Linked DNA regions of Homo sapiens: regions 1, 2 and 3 are each linked to region 4. The links are contacts of gene promoters, found by promoter capture Hi-C in blood cells and fetal thymus (Javierre and others, 2016). All regions are on one chromosome and are shown on one strand. The core of a region is centred on a gene start or on the middle of the fragment in contact, and the rest is flanking DNA. Distances in the headings are between cores, read along the strand shown. Region 1 overlaps TMED8 (transmembrane p24 trafficking protein family member 8). Region 2 overlaps VIPAS39 (VPS33B interacting protein, apical-basolateral polarity regulator, spe-39 homolog). Region 3 overlaps VIPAS39 (VPS33B interacting protein, apical-basolateral polarity regulator, spe-39 homolog). Region 4 holds the start of ALKBH1 (alkB homolog 1, histone H2A dioxygenase).

Region 1 (7,385 bases), core at 597-3,096, 360 kb after region 4:
GAGGTCAGAAGTTTGAGACCACCCTGGCCAACATGGTGAAACCCCGTCTCTATTAAAAATACAAAAAATTAGCCAGGCATGGTGGTGCACACCTGTAGTCCCAGCTACTCAGGAGGCTGAGGCAAGAGAATTGCTTGAACCAGGGAGGCAGAGTTGCAGTGAGCCGAGATCCGAGATCATGCCACTACACCCCAGCTTGGGCGACAGAGCAAGACTCTGTCTCCAAAAAAAAAAAAAAAAAAAAAGGGCCTTAGAGTTCCAGGTGGCAGGCTTGGTTCCCAGTGCTGTGCATACAGAGGCAGTGAGACCCAGTGCCTGCCACCAAGCTTACTTTCTAGTAGAGGAGGCAGATGATACACAGTGTCAAGAAACAGAAATGGACTATAATTTCTGGGTTGAAGAGCATTAAAATAGACCCACAGCCTAGGCCAGTTTACAGCTTACACTGAATTACCCAAGTGAACCTATAAAGATCAACAGAATCCCACAGCTCTGATTCTTGGAGTGACCTCCTCTTGTCTGTCCTGAGGTAGGTTGGAGTAATTTTGGATATTCCAAAAGATGGCTCTGTTTTATCTGAAGGAGTGATTCTTCTTGTTTATGTTAAAAAAGAAAAGAAACAAACTAATAAACTCTAAAATGAAGCCTCCGTTTCCCCCATGAGGTGTATACTACCATTTTCCAGTCATTTACTCAACCTCTTTGAGGAAATGATGCCCTCAAGCAGGGATTCTCAGACCTTTATACTCTTAAAAATTATTAAGGACCCAAAGAATTTTTGTTTGTGTGGGTTATATCTATCAATATTTACTATATTAGAAATTAAAACAGCCGGGCGCGGTGGCTCATGCCTGTAATCCCAGCACTTTGGGAGGCCAAGGTGGGTGGATCACGAGGTCAGGAGATCGAGACCATCCTGGCTAACATGGTGAAACCACGTCTCTACTAAAAATACAAAAAAATTAGCTGGGTGTGGTGGCCGGCGCCTGTAGTCCCAGCTACTCGGGAGGGTGAGGCAGGAGAACGGAGTGAACCCGGGAGGCGGAGCTTGAGTGAGCTGAGATCGCGCCACTGCACTCCAGCCTGGGCGACAGAGTGAGACTCCGTCTCAAAAAAAAAAAGAAATTAAAACTGAAAAATTAGAATATGGTTATTTGTTCATTTAAAAATAATAACTCATGACATGCTATATATAAAACATGTTTTTACTTAAAAACAACTAATTTTCAAAGCAAAGAATGTAGTACAAAGAGAGACATAAATCTCTTTAATGTTTGGCTTAATAAAAGGCAGTTGGATTCTCAGCTCTGCTTCTGAGTTCATTCTATTGCGGTATCACATGTCATATAGTCTCTGGAAAATTCCACTGCACACTCTTGAGAAAATGAGAATGAAAAAAGGGAAATAACATTTTAGTGTTATTATGAAACAGTTTGAACTTCATAGACTCCCCCGAAGGGCCCCTAGACCATACTTGGATAACTGCCATTCAAAAAAATCCATGTCACCTTTTATCAGCAACAGATTCCCAAAAGGCCTGGGTTATTTTGCTACAACCGTGGCACTAATTTTCTAGTTTTTGTGAGGCCAGGGGAAATGGAAGAGAGCATAAATCATTCCCTTGCATCTTTATAATCAACTATTCATGGCTGAGCACGGTGGCTCACGCCTGTAATCCTAGTACTTTGGGAGGCCGAGGCAGGCAGATCACCTGAGGTCGGGAGTTCAAGACCAGCCTGACCAACAACATGGAGAAACACTGTCTCTACTAAAAATACAAAATTAGCCGGGTGTCGTGGCACATGCCTGTGATCCCAGCTACTCGGGAGGCTGAGGCAGGAGAATTGCTTGAGGTTGTGGTGAGATGCATCACTGGTGCACTCTGCCAAAAAACAAACAACTATTCACATAGCTGTGTTTGAAGCCATTGGGATTGTTGATTAATGTGCTTTAAAAAGGAGAGAAAGTGATGACCCCTAGCACTGAACGGGGACAGGGTATGAAACGGATCTGCTGAAAGACTGCCTCAGGGATAACTGCAGAGAGGGTTGCCTTGATCATCATTTTGTACTTTGTTTTGGTGCCCAGTCTCCCTTAGGCAGACCTCCTCCTTTTGCTTCTAGCCAGTGGCTTTGTGTGTAGAACTGAACTGAGATTCTACCAATTCCTCGGTTAAAATTCTGTGGGCCCTGTGGGCCGCAGAGTGAGGAATAACATTGGAACTCACAGAAGCCGAGGGCAGGATGGTGGTTAATAGGTGTTGGGGCCAGGGGGTGGGATGGGGAGATGTTGGTCAAGTGGTATAAGGTGTTAGAAGGAGGAACAAGTTCTGGAGATCTTTGTACAACATGGTGACAATAGTTAATAACAATGTATACTTGAAAATTGCTAAGACAGTAGATTTTAAATGTTCTCACCACAAAAAGGAGTATGTGAGGGGATGGATATGTTAATTAGCTCAATTTAATCATTTTACAATGTGTACATATATCAAAACAGCACATTGTACACCATAAATATATACACTTTGTCAACTAAAATAAATAAATAAAAGAAACAACAATGACAAAAAAAAAAAAAAAAAAAAAAAACCAGACCAGCAGTCCATCTCAGATGATGGAGCTGTGTGTTTTCCATGGTTCTCCTAGCCTTTGACCTGGCCTTGTTAGTCTTTGTTTTCACACTGTCAACACTTTACTGTGGACCAATTCAGCCCTGGGCAGTGGTCGGCTAAGGTGACAGTAGAGCTAAATAAATGCCAGGGGCAGGTGGGGCAGGGGGTATCTCGAATGTTGTTTTATTTCAAAGTTTCTCCAGGATGATTGAGTCTTTTCAAAGAGTCCTTGAATTAACATGCTCTCTTCCTCTGAGAGGCCACAGATGGTATCTCCAGTGAGTAAGGATGCCACGGAAGATCTGCGGAAAGCAACTGGTCCTTTGGAGGCTCAGGCCTTGGTGAAACAGGATTTGCTGCCTGCAGACCAGGCCCAGGTCCTCAATGAGGTAGGGGGCAGATTCTGGCTCTTTCTTATGAAAGGAGGCACCAGAATGTGGACACATAGTGGTTGGGTTGGAATTAGAAAGCACTGCGAGGGTGGCTCCCGGAATTCTCTCTTTGCCCTCTAATTTAGGGCATCTTGGTCTTCATTATTTTTTGGAGAATGATTATTTGTATCTTCCACAGGGCCCATCATTGTACTGGCACCCAGTAGGCACCGATTCAGAAAACGAAGTGTTAGAGTGAATGTTCATGTGTTCTCTAAAATCCTCTTCATTGAGGAGCCTGAAGTCATTGGACTATTTTGCTCTTACTTTTCTTGTGGTAGATCTATTTAGTATTTATGATAAAGATTCCACAGAAGCTTTTTTTTTTTTTTTTTTTTGAGACAGGGTCTCCCTCTGTCGCCCAGGCTGGAGTGCAGTGGCACGATCTTGGCTCACTGCAACCTCCACCTCCTGGGTTCAAGTGATTGTCCCACCTCGCCTCCCGAGTAGCTGGGATTACAGGCACATGCCACCACACCCGGCTAATTTTTGTATTTTTAGTAGAGGCAGGGCTTCACCATATTGGTCAGGCTAATCTCGAACTCCTGACCTCAGGTGATCCACCCGCCTTGACCTCCCAAAGTGCTATGATTACAGATGTGAGCCACTGTGCCTGGCCTTGATTTTTTTTTTTTTTTTTTTTTTTTGAGACAAAGGTCTCACTCTGTCACCCGGCTTCAGTGCGATGGTGCAGTCATGGCTCACTGCAGCCTCAAAATCCTGGGCTCGAGTGATCCTCCTGCCTCAGCCTTCCAAGTAGCTGTATGGAAGTGATGGTGTAGTGGTGCCCCTGCCATGGAGGGATGGGGGCGGGATGGGGTTGTTTCTATCATTTATTAGCATATGTGTTAGAATAATGGTTGGTATTAGTGTCAATGAAGACACCACCAGGCGTTATAATTAGATTTGTATAATACTTTACAGTTTACAAGCATTTGTATCTGTAACACTTCATTTACTCCTGAGAACAACCTTGTCAGATAGGTGCCATTGTGTCTCCATTTAAGAAATGAGGAAACTGGCTGGGCCCGGTGGCTCATGCCTGTAATCCCAGCACTTTGGGAGGCCGAGGCAGGCAGATCACTTGAGGTCAGGGGTTCGAGACCAGCCTGACCAACATGGAAAAACCCCATCTCTACTAAAAATACAAAATTAGCTGGGCGTGTTGGCAGGTGTCTGTAATCCCAGCTACTCGGGAGGCTGAGGCAGGAGAATTGCTTGAACCTGGGAGGTGGAGGTTGCAGTGAGCTGAGATCGTGCCATTGCACTCCAGCCTGGGCAACAAGAGCAAAACTCTGTCTCAAAAGGAATGAAAGAAAGAAATGAGGAAACTGAGGCTGAGGGCTGTTAGAGACTTTACTAAGGCTATGTAGCTAATATGTTGCAACCTAATCCTTTATTTAGCATTTTAGAAAAGGAAGGATTTATTTAAGCACGCTAGCCAAAGTCTGATTCATTTCAGTTAGCAAAGGAGATGAGAACTGGAGGGCTTATTCTCCAGAAACAGATATTATGAGAATACAGCCTGGGAGGATTACAAACTTGATTTATTTATTTCTCACAAATACAATTCCAGCCTCTTAACTGGATTGCTGACTCACTGATGTGCTCTCCCCTGTGGGCAATAGGTATAGTTTTCTTGTTGAGTTGCCTGCCAACTGTTTGGAGAAGGGGCAGAAATTAAGGTATAATAGCATGAAACCAGGAACACTAATCTGAGTGATTTGAAGGGAAACTCACCAGGGAGACATTGTAAGCTCCCGCATGGGTTAGTGAGGGCTTTGAGTATCAAATGCCATTTGCATTCTTCCATGTAAGTCAGACGTCTGGCAGCAAATGTACTGTTTAAATGCAAGTCCTGGGGCTGGTCTAAGGTGAAATTGTAACTATTGATAGAACACTGTTAGTGACTTCAAGACTGAGACAATCTGTAGCCCGAGGTGGGCTGTGGATGAGAGAGAAAGACTATAAACCAGATTCTGTCTCTGCAGTGCTTTGGAGAGCTGATTGACAGTAATGTAGAAGTAACCCTTGAGTGGGAATTGTAGCAGGAGGATGTGTGGCAGAGTGGGAGTCAAACTAAACCCTAGGAGCAAGAGCTATTAATGAGAGGAGCCACAGGGAGGTACTGTGCAGGTGAGGTAAGACCAAGGCATGGCCCAGAATCACAGTCAATGCAAATACTGTTAACAACCTGCGAGGGTGTTGGCGGACAAGGACCTTATAAAGGGTTTGGAGCAGGAAAGTTGCAAAAGGTAGGAAACAGTCTTTAAACAATGGAATATTTTGATGGCTTTAAAAAATTAGTAGAATTTATTAGCAACTTCTATTTGGAAGAAAGAGAAGGAACATTGACTAGTACATTAAGCTTTGAGTGGGGATAGTGGAGATAATAGAGCAGGGGTGGGGCAGCCTTCATGCAAAAAGAGATTAATTAGAATCTGCCACTCGAATACTCCTTTAACCAGAGTTCTGTTGTGCAGATGGCTAAGTATCAAGTTCCACAGAGGTCTGGGGACATCGTTATGATCCAGTCTGAACATACAGGAGCTATAGATGTTCTTTCAGCTGATTTGGAATCTGCAGATCTTCTGGGGGACCACAGGAAAGGTGAGACCTTTGGGAGTAAAGGAGGTGGTTTGTTTCCAGTAGATACTCAAAGAAAGGCAGGCAGACAGACAAATGGAAGGAAAGAAAATGACTTGTGAAAGGAAGTCAAGCCAGTAGAAAGAATGTCTGACTGTGCCAGCCTCTCTTAGCAAAATGCCCGGGGTACTCATGTTTCCTCATGGTTTCTCAGTGCTAAGCTGCTTGTCCTTTCAGTCTCCCCACCTCTGATGGCTCCTCCATGCATCTGGACCTTTGCCAAGGTGAAGGAATTCAAAAGCAAGCTGGGCAAAGAGAAGAACAGCCGTCTGGTGGTGAAGCGTGGTGAGGTGGTGACCATCCGGGTACCTACTCATCCAGAGGGGAAGCGTGTCTGCTGGGAGTTTGCGACCGATGACTATGACATTGGCTTTGGAGTTTATTTTGACTGGACCCCTGTAACTAGCACTGACATAACTGTGCAGGTCAGTGATTCCAGTGACGATGAGGATGAAGAAGAGGAAGAGGAGGAAGAGATTGAAGGTAAATTTAATTTTAACCTAATTTGCAGTTTTCTGGCTTAATCTGATTTCTGGTGACCATTTTGTGGGTTGTACCAGTCCTCCTCTTCCTTTGAATGCAGTTGAGAAACTCAGCATTACAAGCTAAGCTGAGTGGTACAGGCCAAAGAGAACATTCTGGTGGGGTTGATACTGCTGCCTTAATTGAAAGAAAGCCTCTTTTTCCTTATCGGTACCTCATTGTTTTCCCAACACCTTCCTGGGGGCAGGGATGGGGCAGGAGCAGAGAGAGGGTGAGTCATGCGGCAGTTTAGAGGGATGGTCATTCAGGTCGCATGTAAGCCAGAGATTATTTTACATCTCTCTCTTAGTTTGTAGATATTTATTCTTGGCCTGGAACCAAAGTGAGTGATTACAGTTTGCTAAAGGTATCCATTCTCTCCTTATCCCAAACTCTCATAGCTGGCTATTGGTTACTTCTTTACTTCATGCCCAGACAAGTTTTAAAAGGGTCTCCGGGCTCCATTCCGGCTGTTATTTGTAGTGTCTACACACTACACAAAGGATGGCCCAGAGGCATTTTTCAGATAACGTAAGAGTAGGTCCTAAGCATTAGTCTTATTCCTCTTATTCCTTGATTTTCTTATATAATCTTAAAGTCAGTCCTTTAACGTGCTTCTTCATAGAACAGCAAGCGGGCAGGGAAACCTACAGGTATCTGGGAAAGCGGAGAACCTTGTATCTTATTTGCTGCTTTTCAGGAATCCTAGGGTCACTTTATAGCACGTTTATCTGCAATTCCTATCTTCGTTAGCTAGTCCTTTCACCTACTAAATGATAGAATATCGGGATCTTTTCTTCTAAATATCTCTTTCTCCCTCTCAGAAATGTCCAGACACTTCTGAAGCTAGGAAGGCTCCTCTCAGGCTAAATCATTTTCTCAGTGGAGACATTATTGGCATTTGGGATGGGACATTGTTTGTTGTGTAGGTACTATCCTGATTTTAGCACTCCTGGACCCTTGGGTACTAAATGCAGATATCACCTAATAGTCACTGTGATGACCAAAAGATCACCAGACATTTCCAAATGTCTGTAGGAGGGCAATAATCTCCCCGCTCTGTGAAAGCCACTGGGTCACCTGGTCCTTCCGCTCACCTTCAGGCAGGACTTACGCAGTCTCTGAACACTTTGCCATTTTGCTCACGCAGAACCCGTTCCAGCTGGAGATGT
Region 2 (7,421 bases), core at 1,118-3,617, 260 kb after region 4:
CTCTTCTCCACAGTGCCACTATAAAATTCCTTCCTCTTGCATTCTGGGTAACTAGGCTTTTGACCATGTATGTCTTCATTAGGCTCAGAAAAGAGCCAGAAGGATTGTAAAATCCAGCTCACTGCCTTTCTTACTTTACCTTTTTAAGATGATTTATTCCTACAGGTTTTTTTTTCTTTTGAAGAACCCCAAGTCTTTTATTTATGTGATATATATTTTTTTATTTTTGAAAGATGAACTGGATTGGAAGATTTATCTTTGTTGTGTCTATTTTGCAATTGAGGAATCATTTATTTTTAGAGAGGTGAATAAATTCACTCAGGTTTACATAGCAAGTCACTGCCAGGAATATGATGAGAATTCAAAAGTGACTTTGATTCCTCCTAACTCTTTTATCACTGGACTGTAGTGTTGGCTAAAAATCAGTTTGTTTTCTTGGCAAATATGTAGTATGCTAGGCTTTCGATTGCACAGGGCGAGTGTTGGCCACCTTCAGGCCCCAATTCCTCAGCCTTCTTGATTGTCAGAAGAGAGGTGGGAAATGATGATTTGCCTGAGCACCCTAGCCTTGTGTCCCTCTGCAGTTAAAGGAGTCCAAGCGGGCGGTGAACAGCCTCCGAGACTTCGTGGATGATGATGACGATGATGACCTGGAGCGAGTCAGCTGGAGTGGGGAACCTGTGGGAAGTAAGTAGAAGAGTCCCTAGGCAGGGATAGATGTTGAGGATTCTTATCACTGATAAAGGCTCTACTTGTTTGTTTCTTCAATGCTAGTTAGGAGAGGGACTAGGATAAGACTATTTTCAGATAAGCATACATCTGGAAACTTAACTCCAGGAGAAGATACTTGGGAAATCCAGCAGGAGTTCCCACATGGCTATATAGGTCTGCTCTTCAGGGGTTGACTCTTAGCTGGCTATTTCATTCTCATTTGGGGTGCTTGTTAAAATGACATACTCCTAGGCTTTATCCCAGAGATTCTGTTCATTAGGTCTTCTGCGGAGTAGAGGGGGTCTCAAATTTTAATAAACACTGCAGGTGATTCTGATATATAGCCATATTTGGGAACTACTGACTTGACTCAGTATACTAATAACTGATTGACAGAACGGACTTCCTTACCCACCAAGTCTCACTGCTTAGCTGTATATGATACCACTTAATACTTTTTCAGAGTCCATTTGATTTTTTTTTTTTTTTTTTTTTGAGATGGAGTCTTACTCTGTTGCCTAGTCTGGAGTGCAATGGCGCGATCCTGACTCACTGCAACCTCCGCCTCCCAGGTTCAAGCGATTCTCATGCTTCAGCCTCCCTAGTAGCTGGGATTAAAGGTGCCAACCACCATGCCTGGCTAATTTTTGTATTTTTAGTAGAGATGGAGTTTTACCATGTTGGCCAGGCTGGTCTTGAACTGCTGACCTCAAGTGATCCGCCTGCCTTGGCCTCCCAAATGCTGGGATTATAGGTATGAGCCACCATCCCTGGTCCCCATCTGATTTTTAAGAAATATTTTTAATTGAAAGTTTTTAAAAAATAGGCCATACTATAATGTGACTAAAGATTAAAAAAAAAAAATTAAAGGTCTACAGTGAAAAGTTTCCGTTCCATATTGTTATGTATCTTCTCAGTTTTCAGTTCATGTCCTCCCAAAAAACAATCGTTGCTTGGTTCCTGTGTATTCATCTAAAGACTCTTTTTGCATCTGGAAAAGTATATAGAAACATGTATTCTTATCCCATTTTTACACAAGCAGTAGCATGCTTCATACCTTGCTCTTTTTATGTGTTAATATAGCTTGGAGATCTTTCCATGTCAGTATATAAAGAGTGTTCTCATTTTCTCTTTCTTTTTTTTAAATAGCAGCATAGTATTAAATTGTATGGGTTTACCATCATTTTTTAGCCAGCCCACTGTTGAATTTTAGATTTTTCAATCTTTTGCTCTTTATATTTCTATCATTGACTTTATATTCTGACCATAGATGCATAAATGAAAGAGCAATTCTTAGAGTGGAATTACTCACATAGGATGTTTGCATCTGTATTGGGTAGATATTGCCAAATTGACCTCCACAGGGGTTGTACCAATTCATACTACCACCAGCAATGGAGGAGGGTTCCAGTTTCCCTATAGCCTGGCTAACACGGTATTATCAAGCTTTTGGATCTTTCCCCATCTTATAGGGGACTAATGGTTTCTCATTATATTTTTAATTTGTAGTACTCTTAGCAAAGCTGGGGGCAGGTGGTGTGTGCCTCTGGAGGGTAGTGGCGATGGATGGCTTGAGGCCAGGAGTTGAGGCTGACGTGAGACATGACTGTTAGATATGATTGTGAATAGCCACTGTACTCCAGAGCTCCGGCAATGTAGTGAGACCCTGTCTCTAAAAAAAAAGAAAAAAAGAGAAAAAAGAGTAAGGTTGAGCATCTTTTCATATGTTGAAGAGCCATTTGAATTTTCTGTGATCCACCTATTCATGTCCTTGGTCCATTTTTCTGCTGATTAGTCTATTTGATTCTATCTTTTCTCCCTGCCCCAAGTTGGCCAAGGGACCAGGGCTTCTGGTGAAAAGCTTTTAGAGTTTATTGAATGTTGGATGTCAAGGCTTTATTGTGGATGAGAATTGCTGATGTAGTTCTTACTATCTCACAGGTATCTCATGGTCCATCAGAGAGACTGCTGGTAATAGCGGCTCAACCCACGAGGGGCGTGAACAGCTAAAGAGCCGAAACAGCTTCTCCTCCTATGCACAACTACCCAAGCCTACTTCTACCTACTCCCTGAGCAGCTTTTTTAGAGGTAAAGAGAGATGCTTAAATGGATAGGGAAGTCCTTCTCTTTTTCCAGAAAAATCTTAGGCCATAATTTTCATTTACTTTGTAAGAAAAAGATTATTGAAGGGTAAAGCATTCTCATTGGAGGTGGCAGCTGGGTGTTAGGAGCGAGATAAATGAGAGAAATTCAGAGGAGTTGGACTGGTTTTCTATAGCATGATGAATGAAATTGACATTAACCCTGTGACTGGTACTGAAAAAATTTGCCTAGATCAAAATTCCTCCCTACTCCTTGTGCATTGCTGTTGGAAAACCTTGTTGGTGGGAATGCCAAATGGTGCAGCCACCGTGGAAGACAGTATGGTGGTTTTTTAAAAAAAATTAAACAGTAAACATATAACTGGCTAGGCGTGGTGGCTCACGCCTGTAATCCCAGCACTTTTGGGAGGCTGAGGCAGGTGGATCACCTGAGGTCAAGAGTTCTAGACCAGCCTACCAATATGGTGAAACCCCGTCTCTACTAAAAATACAAAAATTAGCCGGGCATGGTGGGGGCTTCTGTAATCCCAGCTGCTCAGGAGGCTGAGGGAGGCAGATTGCTAGAACCTGGGAGGCAAAGGTTGTAGTGAACCGAGATTGCACTACTGCAGTCTAGCCTGGGTGACAGAGCAAAACTCCATCTCAATAAATAAATAAATAACATATGATCTAGCAATTTTACTTCTGGGTATATCTCAAAAAGAATGGAAAGCAGGTACTTGAACATATATTTGTACCTCCATGTTGATAGTAGCATTATTCACAATAGCCAAAAGATGGAAACAACCCAAATGTCCATTGATGGATGAATGGATAAACAAAATGTGCCATATACATGCAGCGGAATGTTACTCAGCATTAAAGAAGAACGACATTCCCATACATGCTGCCATATGGATGATCCTTGAGGATGTGATACTAAATAAAATGAGGCACAAAGGGACAAATATTGTATGACTCCATTTACGTATGACCTAGAATAGTCAGATTCATAGAGACAGGAAGTAGAATGGTGGTTACCAAGAGCTGGGGTGGAGGGAATGGAGAGTTATTGTTTAAAGGGTGTAGAGTTGGTTAAAGGGTAGAGAGTCTCAGTTTGGGATGATGAAAAAGTTCTGGAGATGGATAGTGGTGATGGTTGTACAACAGTGTGAATGTACTTAATGCTACTGACTTATACACTTAAAAATGGTTAAAATGGTAAATTTTGTTATGTATATTTTACCATAATTAAAAAAAATTTTCTCCCTGCTCCATTTTTTAATGGCACTTCAGATTTCTACAGATGAATAAAACCTTTTTTAAGCCTTAAGTTCCTATATTGCGTTATTGAGTTGGTTACACATTGTGTCTTTAACCAAGCCTGGATGGCTCTGATTGAAACTGTTGACCTTTTCCCTCTTGTGTTCTTTACCTTTAGGTAGAACTAGACCTGGAAGTTTCCAGTCCCTTTCTGATGGTAGGCATTGAACCCTCTTTTAATTGCTGTGGGAAATGTTACTGATCTGGTACAGTCTGGGGAGTTATGGGGACAGGTAGTAATTAGATGACAAGATGAACTTTCTTCTGCATCTACTGTCATTATTAGAGGAATTTTCTGATACTGACTAAGGAGGTAGAAATCATTCTAGCTACAGGGGCAAAGGTGACTTCTAGGGATGCTGTCTTTGGGGAAGAACGGAGATCTGCTTTTGGCCATAAAGTTAACATTGGGAGCCCACAAGTCAAAAAAATGTGAGAACGAAGAAGTAGAGGGAAGGAATGACAAGCAGGATTCATGGTGCCCTTCTGAACCAGCTGCTTATTCTTTTTCAGCTCTGTCAGACACACCTGCCAAAAGCTATGCTCCAGAGCTGGGGAGACCCAAAGGGGAGTATAGGGTGAGTTACAGCATACACTGGTGTGACACTTTCCACAGTATAAAGTACCTTGACATATGTTACCTGGCTTGATTTTCCCAACTATTTGAGTAGATATTTTTTTAACCCTGTTTTATAGATTAGAAAACTGGGTTTCTAAACATGAGGGCTTACCTGGGGTCTCAGAGCTGGGAAAGGGTGCAACTTAGACTTATAATCTCTATATTCTGACTCAGCTCTGCCATACTTTGCTTACTCATTATGCTCCCACTTGAAGGCTGTACTTTGAAACCCAGTGATCATCACTGCAGTCTGGAAGCCTGGTAGAGCTCATATTCCCATGAAACAAATAAAGCAAATTGATTCATAAGGAAGAAACCATATCCTAAGGTCGGAAAAGGAACATGTCTCCAACATCTCTCTCTTTCCTTCTGTTGGCCAAAGGCATTAATTGTTAGAATCCTAAAACGTGATTCTAATTCATCTAGAGGTTGCAGTCCTGAACTGGTAGGCATGGGGCTACTGGCTTTGTCAATTGGCTCCTCCCTCTTTGATCCATCTCCTCCTATCTATATTGCCCCTGCTCTAGTTCCTTCAGAAACTCAAAACAAAACCGTCCCATTTCTTCATTTTTTTCACATCCATTCCCTCCCACAAATTATTTCCCCCTTAGACACTAAGACTGAGTTTGAGTTGAGGAGCGGGTATGCTGATAAATTTGATTCCTTAACTTCCTGGGATTCACGTATTGCTAATATTCCAGGATTACAGCAATGACTGGAGCCCCAGTGATACAGTGCGACGTCTCCGGAAGGGCAAGGTAAGGACAGAGAATTTTTGTGAGGTTCTTTGGGAAGCTGGGCAGCTTGTTCACACAGGGAAGATTTCTTGACCTCTCTTCAGTTCTCATTTGTTCAATGAATTTCAGGGGGAAAATAAATCCACTAAGGTTGAAAGTCAGTGGCAAAATTTCTGATTCTCCATTACTGTTGCTTTGATGGGGTAGTGGGGAAAGAGTGATGGATGAGAGGGAAAAGTACATTTAAGAGTGAGAGGCCAGGGCCAGGGGTGGTGGCTCACGCCTGTAATCCCAGCACTTTGGGAGGCCGAGGAGGGTGGATCACGAGGTCAAGAGATCAAGACCATCCTGGCCAACATGGTGAAACCCCATCTGTACTAAAAATATAAAAAATTAGCCGGGTGTGGTGGCAGGCACCTGTAGTCCCAGCTACTCGGGAGGCTGAGGCAGGAGAATCACTTGAACCCAGGAGGTGGAGGTTGCAGTGAGCTGAGATTGCACCACTGCATTTCAGCCTGGTGAGTGAGACTCCGTCTCAAAAAAAAAAAAGAGAAGCCGGGCATGGTGGCTCACGCCTGTAATCCCAGCACTTTGGGAGGCCAAGGCAGGCAGATCACCTGAGGTCAGGAGTTCTAGACCAGCCTGGCCAACATGGTGAAACCCCATCTCTACTAAAAATACAAAAAATTAGGCGGGCGTGGTGGCGTGCACCTGTAATCCCAGCTACTCGGGAGGCTGAGGCAGGAGAATCACTTGAATCTGGGAAGTGGAGGTTGTAGTGAGCTGAGATCGTGCCACTGCACTCCAGCCTGGGCAACAAGAGTGAAACTCCGCCCCCCTGCCCAAAAAAAGAGAGTGAGAACAATCTTTTATGTTAGATCTGTGATTCATTGAGTTCATTTTTGCATATGGTGTGATGTAAGGGTTTGAGTTTAATTGTTTTCCCCATGTAGATCTCCATTTGTTCCAGCACTATTTGTTGAAAAAACTATCCTTTCCCCATTGAATTATCCTGCTGATGCTTTTGTTGAAAATCGGGCCAGTCACAGTGGCTCATGCCTGTAATCCCAGAACTTGGGGAGGCCAAGGTGGGAGGATCTGTCGAGCCCAGGAGTTCAAGACTAGGCTGGGCAACATAGTGAGACCGTGTCTCTACAAATGATAAAAAAAAAAAAATTAGCCAGGTGTGCGGCCGGGCACGGTGGTTCATGCCTGTAATCCCAGCACTTTGGAAGGCCAAGACAGGCAGATCACCTGAGGTTGGGAGTTTAAGACCAGCCTGACCAACATGGAGAAACCCCGTCTCTACTAAAAATACAAAATTAGCTGGGCGTGGTGGCACATGCCTGTAAATCACAGCTTCTCAGGAGGCTGAGGCAAGAGAATCGTTTGAACCTGGTGGCCGAGATTGTGCAATTGCACTCCAGCCTGGGCAACAAGAGCGGAACTCCATCTTAAAAAAAAAAAAGCCAGGTGTGGCTAATTTATAATATAAATGTATATTATAATTTATAATTATAAATATATAAATGTAACTTATAATCTTATAGCAGGATATGTTTTTAGTCACAGTTGCTTGAGAGGCTGAGATGGAAGGATTGCTTGAGCCCTGAAGGTCGAGGCTGCAATGAGCCGAGATTGTGCCACTCCATTCCAGCTTAGGCAACAGAGCAAGACCCTGTCTCAAGAAGAAAAAAATAAGAAGAAAATTAATGATCATATATGTGTAGGCCTATTTCTGGACTCTTTATTCTAGTTCATTGGATTATTTATCCTTAAGCTAATACTACAGTCTTGATTATTATATAAATGTTGAAATCAAGATACTTCAACTTTGTTGAAGCTTTCAACCTTCAATGTTGTTCTCTTCCAAAATTGTTTTGGCTGTTCTAGATCCTTTATACTTCCATATCGATTTTAGTAGCACCTTGGCAGTGTCTACAAAAGAGT
Region 3 (7,696 bases), core at 1,914-4,413, 270 kb after region 4:
ATGCAGTGGTGTTCACACACTAGTCCCCAGCAGAGTTTCCACTGCTTGATGGTAAACTGAGGAAAAAAAAAGACAAATGTAGAGAGATTTTTTTTCCTAAAGCTAAATTTATTTAATTTGAAAGGTTATCTTTTATTGTAGGATTTTGTCCTCACTCTTCTCTTCTTCTTTGGTACTAAAATGAGCTGTACCTTTTTTTATGACCTTAGGTAATAAAAAGATAGCAATACTTTAGGGACCTGATGCATTTTTTCAGTGTTACTGGTCCTTGAAACCCCAAAGTCCAAGAACCACTGATCCAGGGCAAGCTTTCATCCAGAATTTAACTTATTGCAAAACCCAGCTCCACATATTCCTGTGACAGGATGCCCGTTGCTCTTGAAACAGCTCAGTTTGTTTTTGAACAACCTTCGTTATTGGAAAGTGCTTCCTTACGTTAAGCTGAAATTTGCTTCCCTGTATCTTTCAAGACAGGTGTAGAGTCTACCCAGTAGTCCTTGCTTCTTCAGGTTCAGTACTCATGGTTGTTTCAACCATTCCTCATGTGACATGATTTCCCGGCTTCATGTTTAGAAATTTGATTATATCAGTGAAATCCATTTAATGTTACCAAATACTGAGATATGTTATATGGCCTCTGGAAAACAAGGAGAAAAGTTAAAATAGTGAAGTAACTAGAATTTATAGCATCTCTCTTTATCTCTTCTAAAAATTCACTATGGCTAAAACTTATCTGGAATAGTGTAATTAAAACTCAGAATTCTTCCTGGAGTGAGCAGAGTATGGGGAATAATGCAGCACTTTCTAAAAGATATATCTGTGAACTGGGCATTTAAAATCTGGCTTCTATTCTTGGCCTTCCCCATTGACCACATGACTTTTTGGCAAGACGCTGTCCCTCAGCATCTTCATGTATAACAATAATGTGGCCGGGCGCAGCAGCTCACGCCTGTAATCCCAGCGCCTTGGGAGGTTGAGGCAGGTGGATCACGAGGTTAGGAGATCAAGACCGTCCTGGCGAACATGGTGAAACCCTGTCTCTACTAAAAATACAAAAATAAGCTGGGCGTGGCAGCATACGCCTGTAGTCCCAGCTACTCTGGAGGCTGAGGCAGGAGAATTGCTTGAACTCAGGAGGTGGAGGTTGTAGTGAGCCAAGATCATGCCACTGCACTCCAGCCTGGGTGACACAGAGAAACTCCATCTCAAAACAAGCAGACAAACAAAAAACATAATGCAGTGTTGAAGATGGGACCCTTGACATTTGTGATATTTGCTGATCTATAAACATACCACCATGGCATGTAATTTAATTTACCTTTTGTACTCTGCCATAAAAAAATGGCTAACAAATCTAGGTGTCCCCTCAGTAAGTTAAGCACAAGCCACAGAATTTCACTGGGATGTGGATGATGGGCAGTTGCCTAGGCTCACTCATTAGCTTTGTGACTCATTCACCAAATATTCCAACTCTCAAAATGAGAGGATTCTAATTCATTTATCAGCAAAATTATGAGTGACTATAAGTATTTTGTGGACTCTCAGGATCCCTCTTGAATTGGCAAAACCTTTAATATGAAATTCACGCCATTCATGCGATGTCTTTCTTTAAGGGACGCTCTAAAGGTGAACTGAGATCAGACTTGTGAGGCACCGTGAGCCTCTTATACTTATGCTGGCGATTTGGTTTAGTTGGGTTTGTTTCCTTGTTTGAATAGAGAAAGGTACTAACCTTCTGGCACTCTACCAGTTTGCCATTTTCAGCAGAAGATTCCGCACACATACAGGACCATTACACGCTCCTGGAACGTCAGATCATTATTGAGGTTAGACTCTTCATCTCTATATCTTTTGCTTCAGTGCCAAGGCTCAGTGCCGTTCAGCATCTAGGAGATTTCTATGCTCTGCACGTGGGTCATTTCTTACTGGTTTCTAAAAGCCTTTCATTTTCTGCCTGTACACAATAGCCCCCTTCCTCCATTGTTTTTAGGATCCTTTTTCCTCTTACCAGCTGTTAACCTGGAAGTATTTCTTCTTCATCCCGAATCTCCCATGTCCTCCCCACTTCTATTTGTTTCCATCCAATGTGGATTCATGATCATTTGATGGATTTTAAACTACTCTGGGGATATCCTAGGCAATTTCTTTCTTTTTCTGTTCTTTGTTTCTCTCCTAGGGTGGGAAACACAACTGCTGTAGTATTAAAAGATTTTTCTCCTGCCTCTACTCCATGGACATTGTTTTTTTTTTTTTTCACTTGGCTCACTCCACCACAGGCAAATGATCGCCATCTAGAATCAGCAGGACAGACTGAGATCTTCCGAAAGCACCCCCGCAAAGCCTCCATCCTCAACATGCCACTAGTGACAACACTTTTCTACTCCTGCTTCTATCACTACACAGAGGCTGAGGTACAGGCAAAATATGGAAGATTCCACAAACTCTCATTGCACAAAAAGAAGATAGTTCAAATCCAGTACTTTTATGTACTCTATTAATAATGGGTATGTATAGTTCTCAGAAATCCACCTGGAAGCTTTCCTGGCCCTCACCAGGGGTAAGAGGGCCTCATCTGGCCAGGAGGGAAAAGAGGTTTGTAAGGTTTGTAGCTTCAAGTGAGCTGGCATGCTAGCATAGCAAGTTCTGTCCCTGGTGCTGTTACCTGTAGAAGTCTCTGTTCAAAGGTCCACAATATCAAATGGATTAGCATGATGTGGAGAAAAGCAGTAGGGTGGCAAGTAGCTATGGATACTTTTTTTTTTTTTTTCTCTGAGATGGAGTCTTGCTCTGTCGCCCAGGCTGGAGTGCAGTGGTGCGATCTTGGCTCACTGTAACCTCCGCCTCCTGGGTTCAAGCAATTCTCCTGCCTCAGCCTCCTGAGTAGCTGGGATCACAGGTGTGCGCCACCACTCCCCGCTAATTTTTTTTTTTTTGTATTTTTAGTAGAGACAGGGTTTCACCATGTTGGCCAGGCTGGTGTTGAACTCCTGACCTCGTGATCCACCTGCCTCAGCCTCCCAAAGTGCTGGGATTATAGGTGAGAGCCACCGCGCCTGGCTACTCTTTTTTTCTTTCTAAATTTTTCAAAGAAGTATGGATTCCATGATAACAGGCAGACATTTTCTCCTTATTTGGATTAGCAGAAAATGGGAAAAGGCACCATACTTATTACTCCAGTTCTTGATAAGCCAGCTTATAGTGGTATCTGACTATTCCCAATGGAGCTTTTCCCTGAAATTAATTTCTATGTTTAAATGGCAGCAGAGTAAGATGTAGAAAGTCTCTGTAGTGGGAAAGAAAATGAGAGCTTGGGTGGTACTTGGGAAAGTCAATATCACTAAAGTTCCTTTTTCACTTTCATCCTAGGGGACATTCAGCAGTCCCGTCAACCTGAAGAAGACATTTAAGGTAGATACAAATTGGTCAGTGTTATGAAACTAGTGATCAGGGTAACTACATGGAGTGGATGTTGCTTTGTAACCCTGTACAGTGTGTCCTTTGATATTCAAGGTTAAAGGTGGAAAGGAATGAGTTTGGGAAAGTGAGAGAAGACTGAATGGCCTATAGCAGTGCTGGGGCTTGGGAATTAAGAAGTTCTTGAACTGAGAAATTTTTTGATTTTTAAGGGGCAGAGTCAATATCAGGAAATATTTAATGTCTGTCTTTTCTAAAATTCTTAAGCACCCCCATTGATGTATTTCTACTTCCCCTTAATTTTTCTCGGTCTCTGCTTTCCAGATCCCAGATAAACAGTATGTGCTGACAGCCCTGGCTGCTCGTGCCAAGCTTCGAGCCTGGAATGATGTAGATGCCCTATTCACCACAAAGGTGTGTGCCCTGCCCCTGTGCTGCTGAGGCCTTGGGAGACAGAAGGGTTCTATCATGTTATAAGTTCTAGTTACCGGTTTACATTTTTCCTCCAACTTTTTATTTTCCAAAATTTCAAACCTAAAGAAAAGTTGAAAGAATGAATTTTATAGTTCATATAATAATCAAATATATACTATAATAGTATAATAGTCTTTATCCACATCACTAATTTATTAACAATTTTGCCATGTATGCTTTCTCTTTTTCTATACCTATGTGTTTTTCTTTTCTGAATCATTTGAAAGTAAGTTGTAGACATCTTAACACCTCTCCTTTAATACTACGTAAGCACAATATTGGGCTGGGCGCGGTGGCTCACGCCTATAATCCCAGCACTTTGGGAGGCCGAGGCGGGTGGATCACCTGAGGTCAGGAGTTTGAGACCATCCTGGCCAACATGGTGAAACCCCGTCTCTACTGAAAATACAAAAATTAGCTGGGTGTGGTGGTGTGCACCTGTAATCCCAGCTACTCAGGAGGCTGAGGCGAGAGAATTGCTTGAATCCAGGAGGCGGAGGTTGCAGTGAGCCAAGATTGCACCATTGCACTCCAGCCTGGGCAACAAGAGCAAAACCCTGTCTCAAAAAAAAAGAAGCACAATATAATTATCACTAAAAAAATTTAACATTAATATAATAATACATATTTAATCATGGTCCATATTTAAATTAGTTATTTATAGCTACTTTTGGTTTGCTTCTGTATTTTTTTCTATCAGGATCCAATCAAAGACCTTGGATTGAGTTTGGTTGTCATGTCTTTACTGATTTACCTTTTTTTAAATTAATTTTTATTGTATATATTTAAGGTACAACATAATGTTTTGATCTACATATACATAGTGAAATGATTATACAGTCATGCCAATTAACCCATCATCTCACAGTTAGCCATTTTTTGTGAGTGTGGTAAGAACCCCTAAAATTCACTCTCTTAGCAAATTTCCAGTATACACTACACTATTATTAACTGTATTCCTCATGCTGTACATTAGATTTCTAGATTTATTCATCCTGCATAACTACAACTTTGTATCCTTTGACCTACTTTTTTCCCCCTCTGGAAACTACTTTCTATGTGTTTGACTTTTTTAGATCCTACATGAGTGAGATCATGAGGTTATTTTCCTTTCTGTCTGGCTTATTTCACTTAGCATAATGTCCTCCAGGTTCATCCATGCTGTCACATGTCAGGATCTCCTTATTTTTTAAGTTCTGAATATATTCCATTGTATATATGTACCACAATTTCTTTATCCACTCATCCATCAATGGACACTTAGGTTGTTTCCATATCTTGGCTCTTGTGAATAATGCCACAATAAACATGGGAGTGTAGATGTCTCTGTGAGATGCTGATTGCATTTCCTTTGGATTTATATGCAATAGTGGGATTGCTGGATCATATAGTAGTTCTGTTTAAACATTTTTGAGGAACGCCTATACTGTTTTTCATGATGGCTGCACTAATTTACATTCCCACCGACAACAGTGTACCAGGGTCCCTTTTCTCTATACCCTTGCCAACACTTGTTATCTTTCTTCTTTTTTTAAGATAAATGTTATTATATATTGTATATACTTAAGTTATACGATAAGATGTTATGAGATACATGTAGAGAGTAAAATGGTTACTACAGTGAAGCAAATTAACATATCTATCATCTCAAATTATTTTTTTGTGGCAAAAACAGCTAAAATCTACTCATTTAGCAAAACTCCTGATTACAGTACAGTACTATTAACTACAGTCCTCATCTTGTAATTAGATCTCTAAAGCTAATATTCCAGCATGTATGTATATATATACCATAGTTCCATAGTTTCTGTATCCATTTGTTTGTCAATGGACACTTAAGTTGTTTCCTTATCTTGGCTATTTTTTAGGGAGAGGGAATTATTTATTTGTTTATTATTTTTGTAAGTTACAGATATTTAAATTCTCAGCAATAATTTATAATAGTTACATTTCATGAATAGTTAACATCTCATGAATAGTGTTACAATGAATGTGGAAATGCAAGTATCTTTATGAGGTGATGATTTCATTTATTTTGGGCATATACCCAAAAGAAAGATTGATTACTGGGTCATATGATAGTTCTATTTTTATTTTTATTTTTACTTTTTTGAGAGAGGGTCTCACTCTGTCACCCAGGCTGAAGTGCAGTGGCATGACCGTAGCTCACTGCAGCCTGTTTTCCACATTGGCTACACCAATCTACATTCCCACCGACAGGGTACAAGAGTTCCCTTTCCCCACACCCTTGCTAACACATCATTTGTCTTTTTGATAACAGTCATCTTAACAGGTGTGAGGTGATATCTTATTATAGTTTTGATTTGCATTTCCCTGATGTTTAGTGATACTGATCACCTTTTCATGTACTTCTTGGCCATTTCCATGTCTTCTTTGGAGAAATGTCCATTCAAGTCTTTTGCCCATTTTTAAATCTGGCAATTTTTGTTTCTGCTATTGCATTGTGTGAGTTCTTTATATGTTTTAGATACTAATCCCTTATCAGATATGTGGTTTACAAATATTCTAATCCATAGGCTGCCTTTCATTTTGATTGTTTCCTTTGCCATGCGCAGCTTTTTAGTTTGATGTAATCCCATTTATTTTTGCTTTTGTAGCCTGAGCCTTTGGTGTGATATCCAAAAAAATCATTGCCAAGGCCAATGTCAAGGAGCTTTTTCCCATGTTTTCTTCTATGAGTTTTATGGCTTCAGGTCTTATGCTTAGGTATATTATCCATTTTGAGTTGATTTTTGTGTATGGTGTAAGATAAAGGTCTAATTTCATTCTTTTGCATGTGGAAATCCAGTTTTCCCAGCACCACTCATTGAAGAGACTATCCTTTCCCCATTGGGTCCTCTTGGTGCTTTTGTTGAAAATTAGCTGACCATATATGCTTGGGTTTATTTCTAGGCTCTCTATTCTATTCCACTGGTCTATGTGTTTGTTTTTATGCCAGCCCCGTACTGTTTTGATTAATATATGTAACTTTGTAATATAATTTGAAATCATGAAGCATGTTGCCTCCTACCCCTACCCCCCCTTTTTTTTTTTTTTTCTTTTTTGAGACAGAGTCTTGCTCTGTCACCCAGGCTGGAGTGCAGTGGTGCAATCTCAGCTCACTGCAACCTCTGCCTCCAGGGTTCCACTGAATCTCCTGCCTCAACCTCCCGAGTAGCTGGGATTAAAGGCATGCGCCACCCTGCCCGGCTAATTTTTGTATTTTTAGTAAAGATGGGGTTTCACCATGTTGGCCAGGCTGGTCTCGAACTCCTGGCCTCAAGTGATCCGCCCACCTCGGCCTCCAAAAGTGCTGGGATTACAGACATGAGCCACCGCACCTGGCCTCCATTTTGTTTTTCTTTAACATTGATTGCTTTGGCTATGTGGGATCTTTGGCGGTTCAATATGAATTAGTTTACGTTTTAAATATCTGTTTTTCCATTATGGGTTTAAAAATTTTCTGTTTTTCCTATTTGTTAATTATTTAATTAGTTATATTAACAAAGCAATATGTGTCTGTTGTCAAAATCAAACACTGTATTAAAGTATAGAAAGAGTGAAGTTCCTTTTTCATTTTCTACCTACTCCTATCTCACCCCCTTTCTCAAGGCAAACACTGTTAAAAGTTTAATGGGTAGCTTTCCAGACCTTCCCTCATGAATTTGCAAATAAACATCTGTACTTACAAAGATATGGAAGATGGAATTATTTTCTACATTGATAAGTTCATACTACAAATATTAAGTAAGTTACTTATCCCATTTAGTAGTATTTCAAGACTTTTCCCTGCATTCGTTTCTATAGA
Region 4 (7,584 bases), core at 2,054-4,553:
TTTAAGCTTTTTTTTCAACAATTTTTGTGAGTGTATAGTAGGTGTATATATTTATTTGGGTATATATTTATATATATTTATATATTATTAGGTGTATATATTTATATATTTATATATATAAATATGTATATTTATTATGGAGTACATGAGATGTTTTGATATAGGCATGCAATGTAAATTAAGCACATCATGGAGCATGGGGTATCTATCCCCTCAAGCATTTATCCTTTGACTTATGGGGTATCCATCCCCTCAGGCATTTATCCTTTGAGTTACAAATAATCCAATTACACTCTGAGTTATTTTAAAATGTACAATTATTATTGACCATAGTCACCCTGTTGTACTATCAAATAGGTCTTATTCATTCTATTTTTTTTGTACCCATTAGCCATCCCCACCTCCCACCTACTTTTCCTTAATACTTACAAAAGGTAAAATGCACCTTCTGACATGGCCGAACTGTGCAAAGTGTTCTTTCAGCTGACCTGTGTGGCAGAAGAAAACATTAAAAGTAGTTACTATATTTTGGATTCTCTATCTTAGACTGTAGAAAGACAGGGTCACCAGATTTCTTGTGGACAGGAACTACTTTGCATTTCCTTAAAGGCTTAAGATTTAGGAAGCAGCTATGGTACTGACTATAAAGCCATAATGTACCAGACTTGGTGGTGAGATGGACAGAGAAGTTGTTGAGTTGGCTGCAGTCTCCATCCTCAGCAAATATCGAGTGTTTTCATACCAGTTACTGTGCTATGTGGACTATGATCCCTGTGAGCAGATCACAATGAAGAAAAAGACAAATTACAATCCAGTGTGTTTCCCGGTATACTGAAGATTTCCAAATAAAATCCCAACTTACTGGTCTTTCACAATTTAGTAAAATGTGTTGAGTTGCCCTCACCTACCCTTCCTGCCTTATTTCCCACTGCTAGCCCCTAGTTACTCTCTAGTACAACTAATTGAATTATCTTTATCTGTCCTGCGGGTTACCCTCTTTGCATATGTTGTTCTCTCCCCTCCATATGTTGGTAATCCTATCTCCCCCTGGCTAACTTGTAACACTATAACTATCCTTCAAGACCCAAACCAAGTACATCCACTGAGTATTACTTTATTGGGCTCCTATCACAGTACAAGACAATGTACCAGCCCTGTGAGACTTCAAAGATTTAGAGTATATAATCTTAAAGACTAAAAACTACACGATCTGTTTCTCTTCTGAACTACAGTGCTTGTACTTCACTGATTTACTTTTTATAATATCTATTTAGTTCTCCTAGTTCACCAAAACCTCACTGGTTCAACAATTGCCTATATTTGTTCTAAGTCTCTTCATCCCCACCACTAATTGTAAGCTCCCTCAGCATATAAACCACTATGTTTACAGTGACCAATAAACAGCAGGGCCTCAATATTGGCTAAATGAATAAGTAAAAGTCCACTAATCCTTCCAACAATCCACAGAGACTAAATTTTGAAGGGCTCTAATGGTTAAGTCAAACCAACTGGCAAGATCAAGGTCTCACAGAATATGATACTGGAGAACAAAATAATGTTAAACATATGTTTTATACCAGATAATTAAAGTCCTAGAAGACACTGATTTCAAAACAAACCAGCTCTGGAAGGTAACCCTCTTCCTAAATTGCCTAAAATGGTGAAGGAAAAACAGCTGCAAGCACCAAGAACAATGCCTACCACAGAATAGATACTCAAATAAATATTTGCTGAATCAATGGAACAACAAAGAGAAACTGTTTCGAAGCTGTACATAATGCTGACTCTTTTTAAGGGTTTTAAACTAGCCCTTTATTGTCTGGAAACTTGCATCCGCAAGATGCTAATGAAACTCCTCAGCCTTTCCATAAAGTTTCACAGGGACTACGGGAGACTTTACTGGGCTTGGTCTTCACCAACCACATGTTTAAAACACGGGGCACAAACCAACCTATTTCCCATTCTACTACTCACATCTGAGCCACTAAAAACTTAGAAGAAACTAAATCTTGCTCCATTTTGTTTCCAGGGGTTGACCTGAAACATGAATATCTACAAAAAGAGTGACCACGAATGTTTACATGTTGGTAAGCAAATATAAAAACCTCATCTCAAAACTGCAGCTGACAAAAATTGAAGGTGGTGAAAGATTTCAGAACTAATTATTCCAACCTTTATCTGTAGACTAGGCCTCTCCCGTAAGTTTCAATTTTAGTTACCGTGAAAATAACTATCATTTGCTGAGTACTTACACTGTATCTAACACAAGTCTAAGAAGTTTGCATATAAACTCAATCCTCTCAACAATCCTATGAGTTGGGTATTATTGACTCCATTTTATCGATGAGTAAACTGAGGCCCAGTTGTGAGCCCTTTTCCCATACTAACTTCAGTTATTCAAGTGATAACAACGATTAAATGGCCAAGTTGGAATTCTAACCCCAACGGTCTAGCTTCGGAGTCCACTTCTCAGCCACAATGATATACAACCTTTGTCCAATTGCCTGACGGAAACCTCACAAGTTTCTCAAAGTCAACACATTCAAACTTTACTCATCTTCTCTTGGCCTGCTCCTAACTTCTAAACAAACAATTCACCAATGCTAAAAACCCAGAAATCATTTCTCCCTTTCCTTTATTCCGTACACTTCTCCCACTTAAGCCATCACGAAACGGCATCTAATTTGCTTTTAAAACATTAATGCATCTGACCACCATCCTTCTACCATCGCCCTAATTCAGGTCCTCACGTTTTAAGTAAATTAATGAAATTGCCTTTTAGCTCCTCTGCACGCCTACAATCTTGCCACCTTGAATCCATCCTCCACACTACAGTCAAAATTATCCCTTCTAAATTGTAAATCTTGGTTACCAAGTAATAAATCTTTACACCAAATCACTCCTAAAGGCAAGAGCCGGTGCATTCGTGACCCCAAAAGCTCAAGGGACATCCCTAAACGGTTAACTGCAAACAAAATTTCTTTCTGCTCACTTGCATGCTCAGGAGCAGTCTCCTAATTCAGCCACCACGCTGACTTAAGTACCCTGCAAAAAGCAGAAGCTTTGAGGATCACTTGGACCTAAAAATTCCACTACTCCCACATCTCCATCACTCACTCGACGCCGCAGTCCAAGGAATTCTTCTCACAAAAGCAACCGGCTGATTGATACTTCTACGCAGCGCCGCAGCACCTCTCGCTGCTGAGGCCGCCATCTTCAGACTAAAGCACCTTCTCGAGCCGAGGTCGCGGCCCCGGAAAAAATTTCCGGATCCGGAACACGAGAGAATCTGCTTCCGGATCAGAGGGTATAGGCCGCGAGATGGGGAAGATGGCAGCGGCCGTGGGCTCTGTGGCGACTCTGGCGACTGAGCCCGGGGAGGACGCCTTTCGGAAACTTTTCCGCTTCTACCGTCAGAGCCGGCCCGGGACCGCAGACCTGGAAGGGGTCATCGACTTCTCGGCGGCCCACGCAGCCCGTGGCAAGGGTCCTGGTGCCCAAAAGGTACAGAGAGAGGAGTGGCGCGCGTCTCTCCATCGCTTTGCCCCGCGTCTTGGAGGGACTTACGTGTCTTCTTCGCCTCTTTTCACCTCCAGACCGATTGTTATTGAACGATTCCTGACCTCCTTTGGCTGCAGAGTCGAACTCCCCACTAACCGTCACACTTAGCAATAAAGCGTTGAGATGCCTGTTTCTTTAGGCGGCCATTCCTGGCGGGGGCGCTCAGTCAAAAGAGCCTGGGAATCCGTGTTTATTTCTTACTGTAACTGTCTCCTCACATTTCTGTTTGGGTTTTTGTAAAACCCCATAGAACGTCTTTGTAGACGGTAGGGTAGACTTCTGCAGCTTAAAAAAAACCACTCCCGAGGAATCCCAGAACTGACAGGGATGCGGCGCTGTTTGTTAAGCCACTGTGCGTAAAACTAGTCCCTGTCTTCTCCTCTGGCTCTTTTAGAAGGAGGTCATTGAAGGATTCTGAGAATCCCTCCGTGTTGAAAATAAATGGCAAACAAGTATATATGGAATACAGGCACCGTTCTCTCTCTCAGCTTTTCCCCATGGAGATTAAGAAGGGGAACACAGTCCGGGAGCGGTGGCTCAAGCCTGTAATCCCGCACTTCGGAGGCCGAGGCGGGTGGATCGCTTGAACCCAGGGGTTCGAGACCAGCCTGGGGCATGGCAAGACCCCCGTTTCCGCCAAAAATACAAAAAATTAGCCAGTCTCATAACCTGTTCTCAAGTAAATAGATTTTTTAAAAATTATTTTTTTAAGGGAACATAACAGGCAAGAGGGAAAACGGGGAACCAAAACTGTAGTCCAATTTATATTTTCTTTCTTTACAATCCACTTTAACGTTGAGGATATGCAGTCCCTTAATTTGCTCTTGGTGTTGTCCACAGATGTCTAGATGAGGCATTCTTTCCAAGCTTCCTAACAGCTCTGATAAAATTGGGATGCTACAGTATTAAGTGTTAATGATTGCATACTTGAGCTCAGCTTTTCAGCACCTTCATTTGTTAGGGAAAAAAAGTGGTCTTAGAGTTGTCAAAATACAGAAAGTCCACACCCCAATAATAATATACTTTTTCTCTCCAGAGCGCTTCAGACTCTCATTCAGCTCCTTTTACCTACATTTTACCATAATATGTACATGCTTTTTAGAATGTCAGCCATCAGGGAATGAGCCATTATGTGTCTAGTACAGGACCTAAAACAGTACTAAGTACAGTATGTGTTGAGTACATGAAAGCTTGGGTGTTTAGTTCCTCAGCTCAAAGCAGATTAAAGTAGTAATTAAGAGAAGTTACTATTACAAGCCAGCTGATGAGACTGGTGGGGAAAGTGGTGGTTAACAGTCTGGCAAGGGAGGAAAGAGAAAACCTTTTATAAAAGCTCAGTGGTGTCGTTCAGTTTAGCATATGATAGAATAGGTCCACTAACATCACCTCTGAGAGTGTGTTGAATTATAGTGCAGTATTAAGTATGGCCTATTAAAGAAATCATGACAAAATGCTTAAAAGTGTTTTACCAGTGCCTAGGTACCTGGAAAACTCAGCTGATAGTACTGTCAGAGGGTTTCATATAGCCCTTTTATTATAGAGACTGGTTATACATCAGCAAACTTTTGGTATTTTGTCCAGGAATCTCCACACTTGGAGAAGTTGATAAGATAAAAGATCATTCTCTTTCAAAGAGAATGTTTCATATATATATATATGTGTGTGTGTATATATGTGTGTGTATATATAATATATATACTTTTTTTTACTGAGACAGCGTCTCACTGTGTCACCCAGGCTGAAGTGCAGTGGCGTGATCTTGGCTCACTGCAACCTCCATCTCCTAGGTTCAAATGATTCTTCTGCTTCAGCCTCCCAAGTAGCTGGGACTACAGGCACGCGCCACCATGCCTGGCTAATTTTTGTATTTTTAGTAGAGACGGGGTTTCGCCATGTTGGCCAGTCTGGACCCAAACTCCTGACCTCAGGTGATCTACCTGCCTTGGCTTCCCAAAGTGTTGGAATTACAGGTGTGAGCCACCGCTCGGCCTGTTTCATATATTTTAAGGCAAGGCAGACCCTAGGTTTACTATTCAGGGAAGAATAAAGGTTTTTTCCTTTAATGTTTTGACTTCAATGACTGCATAGTGGGTCTCTTAACCAATGTAATGAGCCATCCATTAGATACTCACATACAAAGAAAACTTCAGCCCCTGAAATACTAAATTCATTTCTAAGTAATTAACAGAAGCAGAAGTTGTAGCGTCAGTTGGACATTTCATCTAGAAGAGGGCAAACAGGATTTTTTAGCTTTTACTTTTAGCAGACAGGATTCCCAGTGTCTCACTGCAACATTTTTTCTGTCTGTTTACAGCACTCTCTTTTCATTCTCTTTTTTTTTTTTTTTTTTTTTCTTAGACGGAGTCTTGCTCTGTTCCTAGGCTGGAGTACAGTGGCACAATCTCAGCTCACTGCAACTTTCACCTCCCAGGTTGAAGCAATTCTGGTGCCCCAGCCTCTCGTAGCTGGGATTTCAGGCGCCCGCCACTACACCCAACTAATTTTTGTATTTTTAGTAGAGACGGGGTTTCACCATGTTGGCCAGGTTGGTCTCGGACTCCTGACCTCGTGATCCGCCTGCCTCAGCCTCCCAAAGTGCTGGGATTACAGGCGTGAGCCACTGCGACCGGCCTTCTCTTTTCATTTTCTCACCCTGTCCAGCTTGGTGTTCCTTATAGCTCTGTTTAAATACCAACTCTATACAAGTGTCTCAAAAGCATTACTGTTAGCCCTAACTGAAGTAAATAGCTTTGTGACTCAAGATATTTCAGTACACCAAGCACCTTTCATGATTCAGCCCCATAAGAAGTTGGAAAGGTATGATGTCATAGGAAAAAGTAGTTTTGAAAGCCAAAATTAGCCTGCTTAAGTTTTCTTATTACCATTTTGCCTTAATTTTGGGTGACTCTACTGTTACTATATAGATGAGAAACTGAGGCTCTAAGACATTAAATGACTCATCTAAAATGCCCAGATCAAGTAAGCAGTACAGCTAAGATTAACCCCAGAGTTAATACTCCTTGCTTTGGCCAGGCACAGTGGCATATACCTCTAATCCCATTGCTTTGGGAGGCCAACACAGGAGGATCACTTGAGTTCAGGAGCTTGAGGCTGCAGTGAACTATGATCATGCCTCTGCACTCGCCTGAGCAATAGAGCAAGGTTCTGTATCTTAAACAAGAATCCTAGCTTTGCCTCATACAAGAAATGTGTTTGGAGGTTTGAGGTTCCCGGGGTTGACCTGCAAAATAGATTTAGTCCTTTAACTTCTGTTTCCTTCCTGCCAGGTGATCAAATCTCAGCTAAATGTGTCTTCTGTCAGTGAGCAGAATGCATATAGAGCAGGTCTTCAGCCCGTCAGCAAGTGGCAAGCCTATGGACTCAAAGGCTATCCTGGTGAGTGTAACTGACCTCAGAGAAGGCAATATCACTCAATCATTTATGTCTTCATGTCTTCAAAGAAGGTACTGTGTGTGAGCAAGTAAATAGACAAAGGATACACATAATAAACAGATAAATGTTTCATTTCCAAACCCATTCTAGACTGTACCTTGTCTAAGACGTCCGTTTTGAAAGGATAGAACAGGAGTCAGCAGTGCCTGCAAATGTGGCTGAAAGTGGCATGACCATTGAAAAAATAAGGACATTGCCTCTGGGCTCCCTGCCACAACTCTGAACATCTGATTTGGCAGAAGTGCTGTGAAGAATAATTTATCATTATCATTGTAATAAATGTCATAATAGTTATGAATAATTCATAATTGTCCCTCTAGTCACATTCTCAAATGGCATAACAACTTAAAACTTGTTGCTATCAAGGCTGAACATATTTAATAAAGAATTACAATTAATGACATCAAAAGTCCTCGCCAGGCGTGGTGGCTCATGCCTGTAATCCCAGAACTTTGAGATGCCAAGGTGGGTGGATCACCTGAGGTCAGGAGGTCAAGACGAGCCTGGCCAACATGGTGAAATCCCGTCTCTACTAAAAATACAAAAATTAGCTGGGCATGGTGGTGCGTG

Evidence for each region. Contacts are between HindIII fragments. The CHiCAGO score rates a contact against its expected background, and 5 or more counts as called.
Region 1: a fragment that was not itself captured here is called in contact with the fragment with the promoter of ALKBH1 in region 4 in 2 of 17 cell types (naive B cells and total B cells); the score reaches 6.3 in naive B cells.
Region 2: a contact is called between a fragment that was not itself captured here and the fragment with the promoter of ALKBH1 in region 4, in 10 of 17 cell types (naive CD4 T cells, total CD8 T cells, naive CD8 T cells and 7 more). The highest score is 16.3, in naive CD4 T cells.
Region 3: a contact is called between a fragment that was not itself captured here and the fragment with the promoter of ALKBH1 in region 4, in 2 of 17 cell types (total CD4 T cells and naive CD8 T cells). The highest score is 5.0, in total CD4 T cells.

What each region holds. Positions count from the first base shown.
Region 1 is chr14:77,341,967-77,349,351 of GRCh38, reverse strand. It overlaps TMED8 (transmembrane p24 trafficking protein family member 8), which reads left to right. Exons shown (of 6, transcript NM_213601.3): 3 at 2,874-3,003; 4 at 5,529-5,655; 5 at 5,869-6,174; 6 at 7,364-7,385. Among named protein-coding and RNA genes, the nearest start is that of GSTZ1, 25 kb to the right of the region's middle. The HindIII fragment of the contact is 3,036 bases long and covers 329-3,364 here.
Region 2 is chr14:77,446,565-77,453,985 of GRCh38, reverse strand. It overlaps VIPAS39 (VPS33B interacting protein, apical-basolateral polarity regulator, spe-39 homolog), which reads left to right. Exons shown (of 20, transcript NM_001193315.2): 3 at 585-687; 4 at 2,653-2,799; 5 at 4,234-4,272; 6 at 4,629-4,693; 7 at 5,436-5,492. Among named protein-coding and RNA genes, the nearest start is that of VIPAS39, 7.3 kb to the left of the region's middle. The HindIII fragment of the contact is 415 bases long and covers 2,160-2,574 here.
Region 3 is chr14:77,429,974-77,437,669 of GRCh38, reverse strand. It overlaps VIPAS39 (VPS33B interacting protein, apical-basolateral polarity regulator, spe-39 homolog), which reads left to right. Exons shown (of 20, transcript NM_001193315.2): 13 at 1,751-1,826; 14 at 2,277-2,411; 15 at 3,367-3,408; 16 at 3,739-3,828. Among named protein-coding and RNA genes, the nearest start is that of NOXRED1, 10 kb to the right of the region's middle. The HindIII fragment of the contact is 1,250 bases long and covers 2,539-3,788 here.
Region 4 is chr14:77,703,742-77,711,325 of GRCh38, reverse strand. It overlaps ALKBH1 (alkB homolog 1, histone H2A dioxygenase), which reads left to right and starts at 3,303. Exons shown (of 6, transcript NM_006020.3): 1 at 3,303-3,504; 2 at 6,849-6,957. The coding sequence starts at 3,322. It overlaps SLIRP (SRA stem-loop interacting RNA binding protein), which reads right to left and starts at 3,223. Exons shown (of 4, transcript NM_031210.6): 1 at 3,118-3,223; 2 at 430-488. The coding sequence starts at 3,214. RefSeq lists an enhancer at 3,340-3,669. The HindIII fragment of the contact is 1,367 bases long and covers 3,064-4,430 here.